Regions from separate parts of the Homo sapiens genome. Here all the other regions are linked to region 5. The links are contacts of gene promoters, found by promoter capture Hi-C in human tissues and cell types (Jung and others, 2019). All regions are on one chromosome and are shown on one strand. Each heading gives the region's core, a stretch centred on a gene start or on the middle of the fragment in contact. The rest is flanking DNA. Distances are from core to core; before and after follow the strand shown. Region 1 holds the start of IFT140 (intraflagellar transport 140). Region 2 holds the start of NPRL3 (NPR3 like, GATOR1 complex subunit). Region 3 holds the start of BAIAP3 (BAI1 associated protein 3). Region 4 holds the start of UNKL (unk like zinc finger). Region 5 holds the start of RHOT2 (ras homolog family member T2). Region 6 holds the start of TPSD1 (tryptase delta 1).

Region 1 (2,794 bases), core at 280-2,779, 940 kb before region 5:
ACTCAGACAATCAGGTACACAGCAAGAGCTGCAGCCCAGAAACAGTCCGGGACGGGCACGTGTGAGGAAGCAAAAACGCTGAAGATTAGATTCCTCAGCAGATACTGACCCTGCGTTCAACTCAACTGTTGAGAACGGGGGCATTTCCACTTCAAAGGAACACACGATCGAGGCACCAACACCAACCACGAAATACAGGGACGCGGGCGAGGACCTCTCTTTCCGAGAGATCGGGAAATGGCTTCAAAGTCGCAATGATGCCCCCACCCTGAGGTGCAGATCACACAAGGATCCGTGGCCGTTTTCTCCTGTCGGAATTGGTCTAGGGAATCTCGAGTTCATGCTAGTTTTAAAAAAAACTCTGCCAAAGAACAAAACCACCCACGACAAACACCCCAACTTAAGGGATTTCGTGGCAAGACTTCCCACTCTTCCCCCTCAACCCACCTCTTTCCACTCAAGAAACCTAAACCCCCAAAGACCTCGTCTCGGGCTGAGAACCCCGCTGCCCAGGGACCTGTCCGCCCGCAGGCCACCCGGGACCCAAGCAAAACAAACTCGGCCACCAGAGTGAACTCGCCCGCTCGCCGGGCTCCACACCCAAGACGCCGACCGAGCACGGGGAAGCGCTTTTCGCCACTGAAAGGACCGACGCCGTCCAGACTTTACCCTAAGGGCCAACAAGCAGGGGGATGGCCTCCTTTTCGCGAGAACCTCCAACGAGACCGGACTTTTCTCGGAGGCGCAGTCTCCTCCAGCCCCGTCCCGCTCCGCACCGGCTCGCGTCTCGGGATGGGGACGCAGAAGCCTCCTCGCCCTGAGGCCAGTTGTGGCTGTACCGGGCGCTGTGGAAGCGACGCCCCCCCCGCGCTCTCCCGCGCCGCCCGACAGGACCCCCCGGCCGGGCCTCGCCATGACAGCCCCGCCGCCCAGCCTTGGTCACCTTTTTCATCAACGCCGGGCGGCAGCCTGGCTTCCCGGGGCCTCCCCGGGTGCCCGCAGAACCAGCCGGGCCGGGCAGCCCCGGCCCCCGAGCGCCGGCTGCAGGGAGGCCGCAACGCCGGGCTGGTCGTCCGCCTCGGAAGCGACTGGTCGAGCGGCGCTAGCCCCGGCACGTCCCCTCCGCGGGCCGGCGCGCGGCTGCGGGGGCTGCGGACGCAGATACTGCCGCCACTCACCCTAGCGAAGCCGGCCCGCCGCCCTCAGCAGCAGTTCCGGCTACGGCGGCCGGTGGGGACCTCACGGACGGCGCGCGGGGGCGGGGCCGGGGTGCGCGGGCGCGCGGGGCGGGGCGACGAACGCGGGGGCGAGCACCCCCAATGTTTCTTCGGGCCCGTCTCCCCAAAACGGCGCTCCCATTGGCTAGCGCTGGGCGGGCGCGCTCGCACGTACGAGCCCGGTGGGCGTCGGGGGCGAGCCCGCGGCGCCAGTAGTGTTGTGACGCCAGCCTCGCGACCTTGCGGACTGTGCGTCTCTTTGGATTGGTGGACAGACAGCCAATAGGCCAGGGCCCGTGCTGTGATTGGCCGCAGCAGTGTTGACGGATACGTGAGAAGAAAACGGCGTGGTAGCTCGGAGTGTGGAATCGGGCGCGAACCTGAGTTCTGAGAAGTGTGGAAGCACGTCTGAGGCAGTTAAGCGCACCCTTTCCTGGGTGGAGTATGTGCTTCTGCGCTACGTTAGCGTAGCCGAGCGGCGCTGGGCACTTGGTCATTTTCTTCATAGCAAGAAAGCAGAGGGGTGTTTTTCAAATTCCAGTGTTTCTTTCTTTCTTTTTTTTTTTTTTTGAGACGGAGTTTCGCTCTGTCGCCCAGGCTGGAGTGCAGTGGCGCAATCTTGGCTCACTGCAAGCTCCGCCTCCCAGGTTCAAGCGATTCTCCTGCCTCAGCCTCCCGAGTAGTTGGAATTACAGGCGCGCGCCACCATACTCGCTAATTTGTGTGTTTTTAGTACATACGGGGTTTCACCATGTTGGCCAAGCTAGTCTCGAACTCCTGACCTCAAGTGATCCGCTCGTCTCAGCCTCCCAAAGTACTGGGTTTGCAGGCGTGAGCCACCGCGCCCGGCTCAAATTCCAGTGTTTCTTTTTCTTTTCTTTTTTTTTTTTTTTGACTCGCTCTGTCGCCCAGGCTGGAGTGCAGTGGCCCGATCTCGGCTCGCTGCAGTCTCCGCCTCCCGGGGCTCAGGCGATTCTCCTCCCTCAGCCTCCTGTAGCCGAGACTAGAGGCGCCACCGCGCCCGGCTAATTTTTGTAATTTTTTAGAGACAGGATCTCGCCTTGTTGCCAAGGCTGGTCTCGAACTCCTGGGCTCCAACGATCCGCCCGCCCCAGCCCCCAAGAGCTGGAAGCCCAAGCGCGAGCCCCGCGTCCGGCCGCCAGCTGCTTTCTTGGGGGCGCTCCCTGCCTCGCTTGGCTCTGTGGAGTCCGGGGCCCGGCGATGGAACAGGCCCTCAGTCACCCAACACCTCAGGACACTGCCGAGCGCATCGACTTTCCCAGAAACGCTTGACCCACGCCCTCCGCTCCGAAACTAGAAAAGCGGAGCCCAGGGAAGGCCTGGGCCGAGACCGCCGCGTGCTGGAAAGGCTCCGCCTCGGGATGCACGGGAAGGGAACACGCCCAGGAGGGGAGGATGCCGCGGTTGATCGGGGCTGTGACAGCGCGCCCTCCACACAAAGGGGACCCAGACGCCGGCCCTGCGCCGCCGTCTCTCCTAGAAAAAGCTCGTCCCGCTTCTCTCTTGCAGAGCGGAATAACCTGGCCCCCGACGCTCGGGCCTCGGAGCTGCACGTG
Region 2 (2,771 bases), core at 22-2,521, 530 kb after region 5:
GTTTTGTTTTGAGATGGAGTCTCGCTCTGTCGCCAGGCCAGAGTTCAGTGGCACGATCTCGGCTCACTGCAACCTCCGCCTCCCGGCTTCAAGCGATTCTCCTGCCTCAGCCTCCCGAGTAGCTGGGATTAGAAGCAGGCGCCGCCAAACCCAGCTAATTTTTGTATTTTTAGTAGAGAGACGGGGTTTTACCATGTTGGCCAGGATGGTCTAGATCTCCTGATCTCATGATCTGCCCACCTCGGCCTCCCAAAGTGCTGGGATTTCAGGCGTGAGCCACCGCGCCCGGCCGCAGTAAAGTTTTTAATCTGATGAAGTTTAATTTATTCTTCTGTAGTCGCTCCTGCCTTTAGTGTCACTGCCTCGCCCAAGGTCTCAAAGATCTCCTGTCGGCTTCCAAGTGTTTTTTTTTTTTTTTTTTTTTTTTGAGACGGAGTCTCGCTCTGTCGCCTAGGCTGTAGTGCAGTGGCGCAATCTCGGCTCACCGCAAGCTCCGCCTCCCGGGTTCAAGCGATTTTCCTGTCTCAGCCTCCCGAGTAGCTGGGATTACAGGCGCCCGCCACCACGCCCGGCTAATTTTTTTTTTTTTTTTTGTAGAGACGGGGTTTCACCATGTTGGCCAGGATGGTCTCGAACTCCTGACCTCGTGATTCACCCGCCTCGGCCTCCCAAAGTGCTGGGATTACAGGCGTGAGCCACCGCGCCCGGCCTTTTTTTTTTCTTTTTTCTTTCTTTCTTTCTTTTTTTTTTTTTTGATACGGGGTCTCGTCGCTCTGTCGCCCAGGGTGGAGTGCAATGGCGTGATCTTGGCTCAATGCAACCTCCGCCTCCCGGGTTCAAGCGATTCTCCTCTAGGATTACGGGCGCCTGCCACCACGCCCGGATAATTTCTTCTAATTTTTAGTAGAGATGGGGTTTCACTATGTTAGCTAGGATGGTCTCGATCTCCTGACCTCGTGATCCGCCCGCCTCGGCCTCCCAAAATGCTGGGATTACAGGCGTGAGCCACCGCGCCCCGCCCAAGTGTTATTTGTAAAACGAAGAAACCAACATCGAGAGGGACGCTGACTCGACCCCGCGCCTTTCCCATCCGCACCAGCAAGAGGGGCCCCTGTGCCCCAAACGCGAACCGTACGGCTCCAGACAGCACCGCGGAACTCGGTGGCTTCCAGAAGGCCCCGCGCCTGCGCATTCCGCTGCCTGCGCCTGCGCCTGCGCCTGCGCCGTTCTCCCGGCCGCCGCCTTAGCACCTCCTCCGGACGGTGTCGCCGAAGTCTCGCGAGCCCGGAGCGTGGCACGTGGGTTGGTAACTGTGGCGCTGCTCCGCGTCCACCACCACCCCTGTCCTCCTCAGGCCCCCTCCGCCTCCACCCCTGCCCTCCTCAGGCCCCCTCCGCCTCCACCCCTGCCCTACTCAGGCCCCCTCCGCCTCCACCCCTGCCCTCCTCAGGCCCCCTCCGCCTCCACCCCTGCCCTCCTCAGGCCCCCTCCGCCTCCACCCCTGCCCTCCTCAGGCCCCCTCCGCCTCCACCCCTGCCCTCCTCAGGCCCCCTGCGTCCCCGCCTCGTCCTCCTCAGGCCCCCTCCGCCTCCGGCTCCGTCCTCCTCAGGCCCCCTCCGCCTCCGGCTCCGTCCTCCTCTGGCCCCCTCCGCCCCCGGCCCCGGCCCCACGGCGGGATGCGGGACAACACCAGCCCCATCAGCGTGATTCTGGTGAGCTCGGGGAGCAGGGGCAATAAGCTGCTGTTCAGGTACCCCTTCCAGAGAAGCCAGGAGCACCCGGCGTCCCAGACAAGTAAGTGAGCGCTGGGCGGGGGCCTGGCGCTCGCGGGGGCCGCCTCATTCCGGGGTCGCCTCATTCCAGGGCCGCCTCGCGGAGCTTAGCTTTTGCTGGGCATTCGAGATCTGCTCGTTGTAGAGTATTTGAAAAGTAGAAAAAGGAAAAAAAAAATTAAAATCATGCATTGTTCACCACACCAAAGCAACTACTGCTGACATTTCATCAGTCTCCAGCCTTTAAAAAATAAAGTAAAATAAAATAAAATGAGTTTGGGATGTATTCATCATGAGAAAATACAAAATTACACGAACAAGGCCGGTGGCGGTAATCCCAGCACTTTGGGAGGCCGAGGCGGGTGGATCACCTGAGGTCAGGAGTTCGAGACCAGCCTGGCCAACATGGTTGAAACTCTGTCTCTACTGAAAAAATAAAAATAAAAAAAAACAAATTAGCCGAGCGTGGTGGTGCGTGCCCATAATCCTAGCTACTTGGGAGGCTGAGGCAGGAGAATTGCTTGAACCCGGGAGGCGGAGGTTTCAGTGAACCGAGATCGCGCCACTGGATTCCAGCCTGGGCAACAGAGCAAGACTCCGTCTCAAAAAAAAAAAAAAAAGTTACGTGAACATCTGAAGTTGTCTTTGCCACCCCCAGTTCTAGCAAGCACAGGGATCACCCCTGGCCGTGTTGGGAGTTGTCTGCCCTGTGCATAGATGCAGATCTATCCACAGGAAAAGGGAACGTCGCGTGAGGTTTTTCATCGCACGAATTGTTCTGTGGCGCCCTTTTCCCATAGTCGGCCTTGGAGCTCCGTCTGCCTTTGCAAGCAGGGATCAACCTCACCCTTGGCTGCAGGCTGCTGCCTTCCCCTGTGGACGGCATGTAGGTTACTTTTGATTTTTCATCATCATGAATGTTCAGTTTTTGTTTTTATTTTATTTATTTTTTGAGACGGAGTCTCACTCTGTCGCCCAGGCTGGAGTTGAGTGGCGTGA
Region 3 (2,944 bases), core at 37-2,536, 670 kb before region 5:
TGCCCTGGGTGTGTGCCTGGGGCGGGAGGTGGCAGGACATCTGCCCCACAGGCTGGCTCTCCACGCTGCCCTCTTGGTCTTCTCTCCAGCTTCCCTGCTCTTCCTCCCTCAGCCCCCCGACTCCCCTTCACCAGGCCCTGGGGGTTTCCCGCAGGAATCTCTCCCTGGTCTCACCGACTCCTCCAGATGGCCCCTGCGAAGCCGATGGCGGTGCCCAGGTGCAGGTCACCTGGCGGGCCCGCTGCAAACGCTGCTCCCCGGGGTCTCATTCCAGTCGAACCCCGGGAATCTGCATTCTAACAAGCGCTGCCGGTGGCCTTGGGCTCCCCGAAGCCTCAGACGGCTGCCAAGGTCCAGCCGCTGGCGCCCAGCAGGAGCGCAGGAGACCGGAGCCCGAGGCGCCTTCTTCCTCCCCTCGCCCGTGTCTGCGCAGCGCTCCCTCCTCCCTCTGCTCACCGACCCCCTCCCTGCCCCGCCTCGCGGCACCCCCTTTCCCGGGGCCCCGGGCGCCCGCAGGAGCCACACCCCCAGTTCTATGGGGGTCTCTCCCCTCGGAGGGGGCGGGCGGTCCGGGGTGAGTCTGGGGGCGGGTCTAGTGTGTCACTTTAAACTCCTCCCCCGGAGACCCCGGCCCAGGCAAGAGCCCACAGCCCTTTGCCGAGTGGGGCTGAAGGAGGGGCCGCTTTGCACTCGCAGGGATTTCGGGGGGACTAAAGGGCCTTACGAGGACCTGCGGGAGGAGGGAAGGGACGAGGACGCTGGGGGGTGCAGCCCGCCCGGGAGGGGTGCTGGGAGGCCCCGGGCCCGTCTGCTCCCCCGGGGAGGGAGGCGCGGGGGTCGAAGCCTCGCTTGGCGGCTCAAGTGCGGGGGAGGCCGTCGCCAGCGCCCGGATACCCTCCCCGTCCGCTCCGCAGTGCGGACCCCACCGCCGCACCCTCTCCTGCGCGTTCGGAGGGGAAATGCCCCCGAGACCCCGCCCCTCCAAGCATGCGCGGCCTCAGTTTCCCCAGGGCCGAGGGGACGTCGAGACCTTCCCACCGCCCCCCGCCTCGGAGGCCACCCCCGTGCCTCCTGGGGGACCCGGACCAAGGGGGCGGCGGCCGTCGGTCCGTCCGGGTTGGGGCGCGGGGCCGAGCCCAGACGGCGGCCCAACAGCACTGGCCGCAGCCCGCGGCACTTACCGTGGGCCGGCGCGGGGATGGGGGGGCTCCTGGGGCGCTGCGCTCGGCACCAGCTCGGGGACGCCGAGGCACAGCTACCGCTCCCAGCCGCGCGCGCCGACGACTGAGCAACTGCTGGGCGGACGCCGCTGCGGGGGCGGGGTCTGACTGGGGGCGGGGCCGGGCCTGACCGGGGCGGGGCCTGACCGCGCTCGCCCCGCCCCCCGCGTCCACGGCGCCTTAGGGGACCCGGCCGGGGTCTCCGTGCCTTGAGCCGGGCCGGAGCCCCCTCCCCCGGGATGCGGGGCTGTGAGTCAACCCACAGGTGGCTGCGGGACGGGGAGCGGGCTTGGCTGCCTCGGGACCCCGCCTGGCCGCGCGCGCCCTCCCCGTGGCGCGTGGGGTCTAGAAGGGGGTGGTCGGCGGGGTCTCCTCCGCGGACCCCAGGGAAGCCACGGTCACGAAGACCAGCAGCGGTGCAGACCTTTCTGGAAGGGCCTGACTCAGGGACACCTCGCGGGCCCCGCCGCTCTCTTCTCGGGGCGGGGATGCGTCCTGCAGGGATCCACTCGGGACGCCCCACGCCCACGCGGACGGTCTGTGGGGCGATCGTCCCTGGGGCTCTGGTGAGGGCCCAGTTGGCGCTTGTGGGGTCACAGCCGGCCAGAGCCCCCGGAGCCCCTGGGGTCTGCACTGGACCCCGCCAGCCCCTCCCGGGTGGCTCCCCGCTCTTCCTCCGCTGCGCTGTCCTGGAACCCCAGCGGGCCCGCGGTCTCCTGCAGGGTTTGTTAAGGCATTGATGGGTCCTGTCCCCAACCCGCTGGTCCCGAAGTCTGGGTGGGGGCGCGATCTGCGTTTTTTCCCTTTTTTTTTCAGACAGAGTCTCGAAAAAGCTCTCAAAAATAGCTCTCAACCAGGTTGGAGCGCAGTGGCACCATCTCCACTCGCTGCAACCTCGAACTCTCCGGCTCAAGTGGTCCTCCCGCTTCAGCCTCCCCAGTAGCTGGGACCACCCGCCGGCTAATGTTTTTTGGTTTCTTTTGTGGAGATGGGGGTCTCCCTATGTTGCCCAGGCTGGTCTCAAACTCCCAGGCTCAAGGGATCCCCCTTCCCCGGCCTCCTAAGGCGCTGAGATCACAGGTGTGGTCCCCACGCCAGCCAGCGCCTGCACTTCCCAGCTCCAGTCTGCTGCCGCCAGTCCAGGGACCACACTTTGAGAAGTCCGTGCTAAGCATGGTCCTGTCGGGGGCCTGAGGCTCTCAGACTTGCCGAGGGCGCAGCGGCCCCCCGGTCGCACCTGCCCTTGGTCGAATACAGCTGGACACTCGCAGCCCTTTGGGGACAAGGGGTGGGGGGTGGTCAGACTTTGGAGTTTTCACCCGAAGGGCACCTGGGCAGCCCAAGGCCAGACAGGCTTCCAGAACACAGCTCTTCAAAGGGAGGGGGCCCGTCTGCCAACAACTGTCTTGGCTTCTGGATCCCAACTCACTCAAATCCATGCCCGCCCCACACCTGTCTGTGCAGGATCGGGGGCAGGACCCCTGGGTGGGCTCTCCTTCGGGACGCTCGGCCCAGGCTCTGCCGGATCCTGACCCAGCACAGCCAGGCCGGTGGGGGAGGGCAGGGAGCTTGCAGGAAATGCAGGGACTGGCTGGGACAGGGACGCGGTGGGGGAAGCAGGGGAGGGGGCCTGGGCCCTCAGCCCCACTCTGTAGCAGTGTTCTCCTGAGGGGCTGGTGGGTCTGGAGACCGGGTCTGGGAGTGACGCCCCTGCCTCTGCGGTC
Region 4 (3,052 bases), core at 512-3,011, 750 kb before region 5:
ATCCTGGCTGGCGCGGTAGCTCACGCCTGTAATCCCAGCACTTTGGGAGGCTGAGGCAGGTGGATCACCTGAGGTCGGGAGTTCGAGATCAGCCTAACTAATGTGGAGAAACCCCGTCTCTACGAAAAATAAATTAGCTGGGCGCGGTGGTGCATGCCTGTAATCGCAGCTACTCAGGAGGCTGAGGTAGGAGAATTCCTTGAACCTAGGAGGCGGAGGTTGCAACAGTGAGCCGAGATCGTGCCATTGCACTCCACTCTGGGCAACAAGAGCAAAACTCCTTCCTCCCCCCGCCCCCCGCCAAAAGAAAAAGAAAATGTGAACCTATGAAGAAATTTATCCTACCAGCAAATGATAGTTTTTGTTGTTTTACAGTATTAATATTAAAAAAAACCCTGAGATACTTGGAACAAATCTGTAGGAAGTGATTTGCTTTCAACCTAAATGGGCCCATTTTTCTTTTCGTTTTTTTTTTTTTTTTTTTTTTTTTTTTTTGAGACGGAGTCTCGCTCTGTTGCCCAGGCTGGAGTGCAGTGGCGCGATCTCGGCTCACTGCAAGCTCCGCCTCCTGGGTTCAAGTGATTCTCCTGCCTTAGCCTCCTGAGTAGCTGGGACTACAGGTGCCCACCACCACGCCCGGGTAATTTTTTTTTTTTTTTTTGTATTTTTAGTAGAGACGGGGTTTCACCGTGTTAGCCAGGATGGTCTCGATCTTCTGACCTCGTGATCCGCCCACCTCGGCCTCTCAAAGTGCAGGGATTATAGGCGTGAGCCACCGCGCCCGGCCAATGGGCACATTTTTCATATCACTAAAAATTTCTTTTTTATTTTTTGAGACAGGGTGTTACTCTGTCACCCAGGCTGGAGTGCAGTGGCGCAATCTCGGCTCACTACTAAACCTCCGCCTCCCGGGTTCACGCCATTCTCCTGCCTCAGCCTCCGGAGTAGCAGGAATTACAGGCGCAAGCCACCACACCCCACTAATATTTTTGTATGTTTAGTAGAGACGGGGTTTCACTGTTGGCCAAGCTGTTGTCAAACTCCCGAACTCAGCTGATCCGCCGGCCTCGGCCTCCCAAAGTGCTGGGATTACAGGCGTGAGACACCGCGCCCGGCCTCCTACCACTAAAAATTCTTCGGAAGCACTGTTTCAAATCACGCAGAGCACTTAGAGTTTTCCCTTTTCTCAGCTACTGCGCTGTTGGGGGAAGGGGGACCTCAAGTGTTTGCAAAATAACTGTGATAATTACCTTTGTAGATAAATCTCTGAGTATAAGTTTTTGAGGTCAAGGTTCGAAATGGAACAAATTCCTTTCTACAAAGGCCAGGACCCCTTGGCCCTTCCGCCCGGTGCCTGGCTCCCCCTGACATCAGCCTCTTGGTTCGTTTGTGGAAGAGCAGCTCTATTGAGATACAACTCTTGTGATTAATTCATGTAAAATACACGGTTATGTCGGGTCATGTCACAGCAGGGGCGACCATCGCGGGTCCCACGCGCGGCCCCGGGCAGGACCAGCGTCCCGGGCCGGGGGCTGCAGGGCAGGGCAGGGCAGGGCAGGGCAGGGCAGGGCAGGGCAGGGCAGGGCGGGGCGCGGGGCTGGGGCGGGGTCTGCGGGCCGGGGGCGGGGCTGCGGGGGGCGCGGGGCTGGGGCGGGGCCGGGGTCTGCGGGCTGGGGGCGGGGCCGCGGGGGGCGTGGCCGCGGGGGCGCGCGGGGATATCCGGGGGCGGGGGCGCCGGCGCGGCGCATGCGCGCTGCATTGTTTTGACTGAAAATGCCGTCGGTTTCGAAAGCGGCGGCAGCGGCGCTGAGCGGGTCCCCCCCGCAGACTGAGAAGCCGACCCACTACAGGTCAGCGCCCGTCCGGCCTGCGGCCCCCCGCCCGCGCCCGGTGCAGCTCGGAGCCTCCCGCCGGGGCTCGCGCCGCCTCCGCCGCCCCCGCGCCCCCCGGCCTCCGCGCAGCGCCTGGGCTGGGGGGGCCACGACCCTCTGCTCTCGGCGGCCTCCGCCTGAGGTCGGAGCGCGGCGCCCATGGTCTGGGATGGCACCTGGTTCCGGGGTCCACGCGCCTCTGGGGAGGGAGGAACGCCCCGGGGTTGGGGGTTGCGCCTGGGCTCGGGGACCGGGACCCTCTGCTCCGGCTGCCGACCGTGAGGTCACAGCGGGTCGCCCAGGGTCCGGGGTGGCGCTTGGGCTTGGGGACCAGGGTCAGCGCCTGGGCTACGAGGTCGGGTGAGGGTCGCGTCTGGAGTCGGGATGGGGGTGGGCGCAGCGCCTGGGGCCCGCCGGGAATGTGAGTACGGGTCGACCCTGGGTTGAGGCTCCTGAGGCCGGTGGGTCCCGCCGCCCACGAGTCCGAGTCCCTGGAGGTGCTGCCGGAAGCGAGCCGCGGCGCTGTCTGTGTTTGTAGGTACCTGAAGGAGTTCAGGACGGAGCAGTGCCCCCTGTTTTCACAGCACAAGTGCGCGCAGCACCGGCCGTTCACCTGCTTCCACTGGCACTTCCTCAACCAGCGGCGCCGCAGGCCCCTCCGCAGGCGCGACGGCACCTTCAACTACAGCCCCGACGTGTACTGCTCCAAGTACAACGAAGCCACCGGCGTGTGCCCCGACGGCGACGAGTAAGCGGCCGCGAGGGGGCGCCGCTGCCTGGGCGGAGGTGGGGGGCCTCCACCCGGGGATGCGGCCGGGACCCTCAGCGGACGCCTTAGTGTCCATACCTGGCCCCTGCAGAGGGAGTCGTAATTATACGCTGAAATTTTCTAGTGACCAGGGATGCTGGGGCGGCATTTCCTATTCTCAGGCCAGTTCCCGAGGGATTATGTGTGTTTTAGGGGTAACCCTTGTGTGACTCAAACCAATTTTGCTTCACCTCCCACTTTTTTTTGTTTGTTTTTTGAGACGGAGTTTCACTCTTGTTGCTCTGGCTGGAGTGCAATGGCATGATCTCGGCTCACTGCAGCCTCTACCTCCCAGGTTCAAGTGATTCTCCTGCCTCAGCCTCCGGAGTAGCTGGGATTACAGGCATGTGCCACCATGCCCAGCTAATTTTTT
Region 5 (2,528 bases), core at 29-2,528:
AGCCTTCCCTAAAACCTGCCTCCAGCCTGGTGTTGGCAGAGCAGGCACTCCCCAGTGTCACACTGGGAGCTGCTGCTGAACCCTCAGAGAAGCCTCTTCCCCGCCCACTGCCAGTGCAGGGACACCAGGCCCCAGAAGCATAACTGTGGTCAGCAAGACCCTTGGAGCAGAGGGCTCAGGACAGACACGGCCACACCTGCAACCCAACACCCTGCAAGACAGCCGCCGCCTTGGCCCCTGCCTCCCCCCTCGCTACAGACAGAGTGACAGGACCGCAGTGAGGGGTGCCAACAGCAGGGGCTGCCCTGGGTGGCTGTGGCCTGTGCCCTTGCCTGGAGATGTCCCCGGCACACGTGCTCTGGTACTGGGAGCTCCGGGTGCCCGGAGGCCGGGACGGTGGGCTGGAGCACACAGCACGGGGACGTGGCGCACACAGAGCCCACAGGAAGAGCAAACGCTGCTGCCACCCCGGCAGGAGGGAGGGAGAGCCCGCGGGGAAGGGTCCTGTTATCCCTGGAGCACCACTGGACTGAGCGGTGCCGGCTCCCAGCGGGGTGCGCTGTAGGGGCCCCGACAACCCTCAGTGCGGAGGTCACAGAATTATCAGGGCCAAGGACACCCGGAGCACCTCGGTCCAATCCCCCAGGCTGCGAAGCGGATTAGGCCGAGCCCGCGCCCAGCCCCTCCCTCGTCCCGCGCACCACGGGTACCTTGTGGATCTCCTCCCGCAGCTCCTCGTCCGTCTGCTCGGCTTCTAGGGGGACAAAGAGACTCCACTGCGGACCCAGCAGGCCCGCCGGACCGCTGCGGGCCGGGCCCCCGGGAGGCTACGGCCGCTACCTGAGTAGTCCACGATGTGGGTGGGCACCTTCTCCGGGGTGACGTCCGCGGGGATGGTGATCTCCTCCGCGCGGGGAGGGACCTGCAAGGGACCCGCGCGCTCACCAGGGACCCCCGGCTGGGCCCGCTCCCACCCCCGCGGCGGGCGTGCCCCTTACCTCCTCGGGGAACTCCTCGCCCACCAGGGACAGGATCAGCGACGTCTTCCCCACCTGGGCTGCGCGGGGCGAGGCGGTCAGCGCGAGGGCCAAGGTCACGGCGCCCCCCGACCCCCGAGACCCTCACCCCGCCTCACGGCCGCCGCAGCTCCGAGACCCCCGGGCCGGCGCCTACCCTCGCCCAGTAACAGGATGCGCACGTCCCGCCTCATAGCTGCCGCCCGGAGCCGCTCCCCGACCCGGAACCCGGCCCCGACCTGGTCCTCAAGCCTTTCGCTCTGCCCCCGCGCCCGCCCCGCACTTCCGGTTCTCGGCCCCGCGCTGTCCCCACACTTCCGGCCCCGCCCGCACAGCCGCACCAGCGAGCCGGGCGGGCCAGAGCGGACAGGCTGTGCGGCGCGCCACCGTGTGGACGCGCCGGCCACGGCGGACAGCGCAGGGTCCTGGCGCCCTGGCAGGCCGAGCGGCCATTGCTTCACGGCACCACAGGGGCCTTGACAAACAGCCGATTAAGGGACGGGCAGAGGCTGAGCTCAGGCCAGGAGTGACCAGAGACAGCCAGTGCAACAATGCAGCAATAATGCAATAAATGCCCATGTTTATTACAAGATAGAAACATTAAAGATTTCTTAGGCAAAAGGGCAACAGGTATGAAAGTATTCACAGGGCGCCAAATTTACAACAGCTTGCTCCAGGCGATTTACGTGAATCCTGGCCTGTCCCAGCATGAGGCCATTGACAACCTGGCGCCTCTGCCAAGCCTGTGTCCAGGTGCCTGGCATGACCAGGCGTGATGCCCACCACCACAGTCCCTGCTGCATCTCAGAGGCCGGGGACCTCCCACACAAGGATCTCGTTGCGGGCGGCCGTGAAGAGCAGCCTGGCGGACGGTGTAAACCTGCACAGGTGCACTGCGTTGTCGTGGCCGGCAAAGTCTTGGGCAGTCCCCATGGCACAGTCTACCAGCCTCAGCATGCACTCTGTGGGTAGACGGTGCAGGTGGGCCAGGGCCAGGACCAGGCAGCACTCAGAGGGCTCCCCCAACCCACCCAGACTGTCCCCACTGGGCATGATGCTGGTCGGGGGAGCTGGTGCTAAAAGGGCTCCTGGCTGTGCCCTCCACGTGCCACTGGGACTAGGGGGTCCATCACTGCCAGGCTGTCGGCCTGCAGCTGGGCCAGTTCCCTCCTTAAAAGTCGCTGCCACCCGTGCATTCAGGCCCTGTGCTGGGCGCTGTGCCTGGTTCCTCACCTGCCTCATCATCTCCTGACTCCAGGACCCTCTCTAGGGCAGATGTCCTCACCCCACCCCAGAGACGAGGAGCCCGGGGCACAGGTGAGGCACCTGTCTTGGAACAGGGCACCAGTCAGCCCACTTGGCCCCCACCTAAGACAGGCCCAAACTGCATCCACCAGCACTCACCAGCAAAGCCAACAGCCAGGAGGTGGGTCCCGGGGGACAGGCTCAGGGACATGGCAAAAAAGGGCAGTGGTATCTTCTCCACCACCTGTGAGCAGCCAGCGTGAGGCT
Region 6 (2,872 bases), core at 304-2,803, 590 kb before region 5:
TCACAGCCCAGGGTTGCCGCTCAGGCTGTACCCCAAAGCTTTGCTCTGAATTGTGGATAAAATGGGGACAAGACCTTCTAGAAGTGAAAATGTGCCTCGTGGAGGGCCACAGTGAGCTTCGTCCAGCCCCCCACAGCACTGCCACGACCCCGATTCCCAGGCCCCTGCCTTGTCTGTAGCACAGGGATGGAGGGCAGGCAGGTCTCATCCCAGCACCGGTCTCTCTCCTTCCAGCAAGACCCCCGTGTGATTTCTCTCTCCACATAGCAAGTCCGTGACGTACAAACTTTTGATGCACCCTTTCAGGCAAGGGGAAACCGAGGCACGGAGGTGCTAAGGGACTCTCCAAACCCCTGGGGTGGGGGACGCCCAGGCCCTTTGGACTCACCGTCTCTGCTCAGGGCACCTGCTGCCTCTCGCCACCGCCTGCTCCATCCATCCTGGCCTCCACAGTCCCCCTCCCTGAGCCGCCCTGAGGGACCCTGTCACCCCACGGACTGGCCTGTGGCTGTGACTTGGTGCCCACCTGGCCCGGCCTCCCGCTGTCCCCAACACCCACCATTATTGTCCACGTCGCCCCAGCCAGTGACCCAGCACGGCATCCCCGGGGGGAAGGTCTCCGAGGCAGGGGGCAGCGTGACCGTGTGGATGTGGCTGGAGATGTTCACGGGCTCCTCCAGCTCCAGCAGGGCGATGTCCGCCCCGGTCTGGATGATGTAGAACTGTGGGTGCACGATGATCCTGCTGACCGGCAGCAGCTGGTCCTGGTAGTAGAGGTGCTGCTCCCGCAGTTGCACCCTGAGGGCGGCCAGATCCTTGATGTCCCTGGGCAGCGGAGGATCCCACTCAGGGCCCTGGGCAGCCCCCAGGAGCACCCGGGAGCCAGGGCTCACATCCAGCCCTTGCCCACCCCTCCAGGCCCCAGGAGACTCACGGTTCCACGCAGTGCGCCGCGGTTAGCACCCACTGGGGGTGGATGAGGGAGCCCCCGCAGAAGTGCATCCAGTATGGGCCGCGGACTCTCAGGCTCACCTGCCAGGGCCACTTGCTCCTGGGGGCCTCCTGCCCCCCAACAATGCCCGTTTGCTGCAGGGCCTGGCCTGGGGCTGGGGCAGGTGCCAGGTCAGGACCAAGAAGCCGCCCCACGCCTGGGACCAGCCCTTCCCTGTGTGGGGGCCAGCCCGGCCTCCCCAGAACCCACCCAGGCCCTGATCTGTGGAATGTGGTGAGGGGCAGGGTGGACCCCGGCTGGGACTCACCAGGGGCCACGTAGGCCGGGCTCGCCAGGACGGGCAGCGCCAGCAGCAGCAGGCTCAGCATCTGGGGAGCAAGGAGGAGCATCGTGGGCCTGGCCGGGCCTCACAGGGCAGGGCTGGGGGCTACAGATTGTGGGGTGAAGAATGGAGCTGGGACGGGGGGACCGGGGTGGGTCCAGGCCTGCGGGCCTGGGTCTTGGTGCTCTGAGTCTGAGGCTGGGCCACTCTGCTCCAGGTGACGCTGATGTCAGGGTCTCTGAGAGTAGGGACTTACCCTGGCCACTCCCTGTTCCTTCTACCCAGCGGGCTCTCCCCTCCCCATTTATGCTTCCAGATCAGGAGGGGGCGGAGGAGGGGCGCTGGGTCCTCCCATCCAGACTCGGAGGAAGTGGATGACTCAGACCCAGGGCCCCCGTGTAACACATGCCCCCGCCACCCCGATGCCCTCTGTGTGTGGGGCTGCCAGGCAGGCCCCGCCGAGGGCTGAGCACTGGAGGCTCGCAGCTCCACCTGTCAGCTGGTGGATCCCAGCACTGGAACCCACCACCTTCCCGCTGGTGGGATCTGCTCCTGCCCCTGTCTCGGTGCCAGGAGGCCTTCAGGCATAGCTGCACCCAGGTGGCCTGGCTGCCCCAGGCTACAAGACCCGTCGCTCCTGAAACCTGTTTCCCCAAGAGGGACACGGGGTGAGGAACTCATGTCCATGGGCCACCCTCCAAGAGACGGGAAGGTGCCCACGGGGTGGGGACATGACGGGTGACACCCCTCCTACGGACTCCGAATCCACGGGGGTGGGGCCAGCCCTCCTCGACTCACTTGGTTGGGGGCTCACATGAGACCCCTTTGTCAGATGGGGAAACAGCCTTGAGAGGGGACAGCACCAAGTGTCCTCAGCCAGGAAGGGGCCCTGCTCCCCACCTCCCGTATGAGACCCAAGTCCTCCAACGATTCCTCAATGTCCACCTCTGGGGCTGTCCGTGCAGGTCCCCTGGTCTGCAGGTGCCTTCTTATCATGGGATCTGAGCTTCATCCGCAGAGGGAAGGGCAGACAGGAGTGCAGGTGCAACCCCAGGAGACCCAGCCCAGCTCCCCATGGACTCACCCCCAGCCCCAGCCCAGCTCCCCATGGACTCACCCACAGCCCCAGCCCAGCTCCCCATGGACTAGTCCCAGCCCCAGCCCCAGCTCCCCATGGAGTAGTCCCAGCCCCAGCCCCAGCTCCCCATGGACTCACCCACAGCCCCAGTCCAGCTCCCCATGGACTCACCCCCAGCCCCAGCCCAGCTCCCCATGGACTCACCCCCAGCCCCAGCCCAGCTCCCCATGAACTAGTCCCAGCCCCAGCCCAGCTCCCCATGGACTAGTCCCAGCCCCAGCCCAGCTCCCCATGGTCTCACCCCCAGCCCCAGCCCAGCTCCCCATGGACTAGTCCCAGCCCCCGGCCCCAGCTCCCCATGGACTCACCCCCAGCCCCAGCCCAGCTCCCCTTGGTCTCACCCCCGGCCCCAGCTCCCTGTGCTCTCCATCCCATTCAGCGCTGACACTGTCCCTGCAGCTCCGTCCACCCCACCTCCTGACTCACCTGGGCCTGTTGGTCACTGGGGCCTCCAGCCCAC

What was found. Contacts are between HindIII fragments. The study calls those that stand out against the background at their distance.
Region 1: a contact is called between the fragment with the promoter of IFT140 here and the fragment with the promoter of RHOT2 in region 5, in 1 of the 25 tissues and cell types used here (dorsolateral prefrontal cortex).
Region 2: the fragment with the promoter of NPRL3 here is called in contact with the fragment with the promoter of RHOT2 in region 5 in 1 of the 25 tissues and cell types used here (lymphoblastoid cells).
Region 3: a contact is called between the fragment with the promoter of BAIAP3 here and the fragment with the promoter of RHOT2 in region 5, in 2 of the 25 tissues and cell types used here (dorsolateral prefrontal cortex and lymphoblastoid cells).
Region 4: a contact is called between the fragment with the promoter of UNKL here and the fragment with the promoter of RHOT2 in region 5, in 1 of the 25 tissues and cell types used here (dorsolateral prefrontal cortex).
Region 6: a contact is called between the fragment with the promoter of TPSD1 here and the fragment with the promoter of RHOT2 in region 5, in 5 of the 25 tissues and cell types used here (H1 embryonic stem cells, dorsolateral prefrontal cortex, liver and 2 more).

The regions. Positions count from the first base shown.
Region 1 is chr16:1,610,807-1,613,600 of GRCh38, reverse strand. It overlaps IFT140 (intraflagellar transport 140), which reads left to right and starts at 1,529. Exons shown (of 31, transcript NM_014714.4): 1 at 1,529-1,633; 2 at 2,748-2,794. It overlaps CRAMP1 (cramped chromatin regulator 1), which reads right to left and starts at 1,241. Exons shown (of 21, transcript NM_020825.4): 1 at 944-1,241. RefSeq lists enhancers at 345-845, 846-1,346, 1,735-1,794 and silencers at 725-884, 915-1,034, 1,055-1,584. The HindIII fragment of the contact is 16,182 bases long and covers 1-2,794 here.
Region 2 is chr16:137,173-139,943 of GRCh38, reverse strand. It overlaps NPRL3 (NPR3 like, GATOR1 complex subunit), which reads left to right and starts at 1,271. Exons shown (of 14, transcript NM_001077350.3): 1 at 1,271-1,302; 2 at 1,610-1,794. The coding sequence starts at 1,677. RefSeq lists an enhancer at 1,342-1,391 and a silencer at 1,612-1,841. The HindIII fragment of the contact is 17,392 bases long and covers 1-2,771 here.
Region 3 is chr16:1,331,987-1,334,930 of GRCh38, reverse strand. It overlaps BAIAP3 (BAI1 associated protein 3), which reads right to left and starts at 1,286. Exons shown (of 34, transcript NM_001199097.2): 1 at 1,182-1,286. RefSeq lists silencers at 1,237-1,396, 2,132-2,332. The HindIII fragment of the contact is 17,320 bases long and covers 1-2,944 here.
Region 4 is chr16:1,413,413-1,416,464 of GRCh38, reverse strand. UNKL (unk like zinc finger) reads left to right here and starts at 1,761. Exons shown (of 15, transcript NM_001372107.1): 1 at 1,761-1,850; 2 at 2,410-2,619. The coding sequence starts at 1,774. RefSeq lists enhancers at 562-1,135, 1,136-1,710, 1,711-2,285, 2,286-2,860 and silencers at 1,357-1,426, 1,477-1,596, 2,137-2,186, 2,617-2,766. The HindIII fragment of the contact is 21,408 bases long and covers 1-3,052 here.
Region 5 is chr16:666,882-669,409 of GRCh38, reverse strand. RHOT2 (ras homolog family member T2) reads right to left here and starts at 1,278. Exons shown (of 19, transcript NM_138769.3): 1 at 1,174-1,278; 2 at 999-1,057; 3 at 841-922; 4 at 711-754. The coding sequence starts at 1,210. WDR90 (WD repeat domain 90) reads right to left here. Exons shown (of 41, transcript NM_145294.5): 40 at 2,421-2,505; 41 at 1,580-1,978. The coding sequence ends at 1,821. RefSeq lists silencers at 811-900, 1,001-1,100, 1,161-1,500 and an enhancer at 886-1,567. The HindIII fragment of the contact is 52,780 bases long and covers 1-2,528 here.
Region 6 is chr16:1,254,750-1,257,621 of GRCh38, reverse strand. It overlaps TPSD1 (tryptase delta 1), which reads right to left and starts at 1,553. Exons shown (of 5, transcript NM_012217.3): 1 at 1,260-1,553; 2 at 935-1,106; 3 at 560-825. The coding sequence starts at 1,341. The HindIII fragment of the contact is 12,300 bases long and covers 1-2,872 here.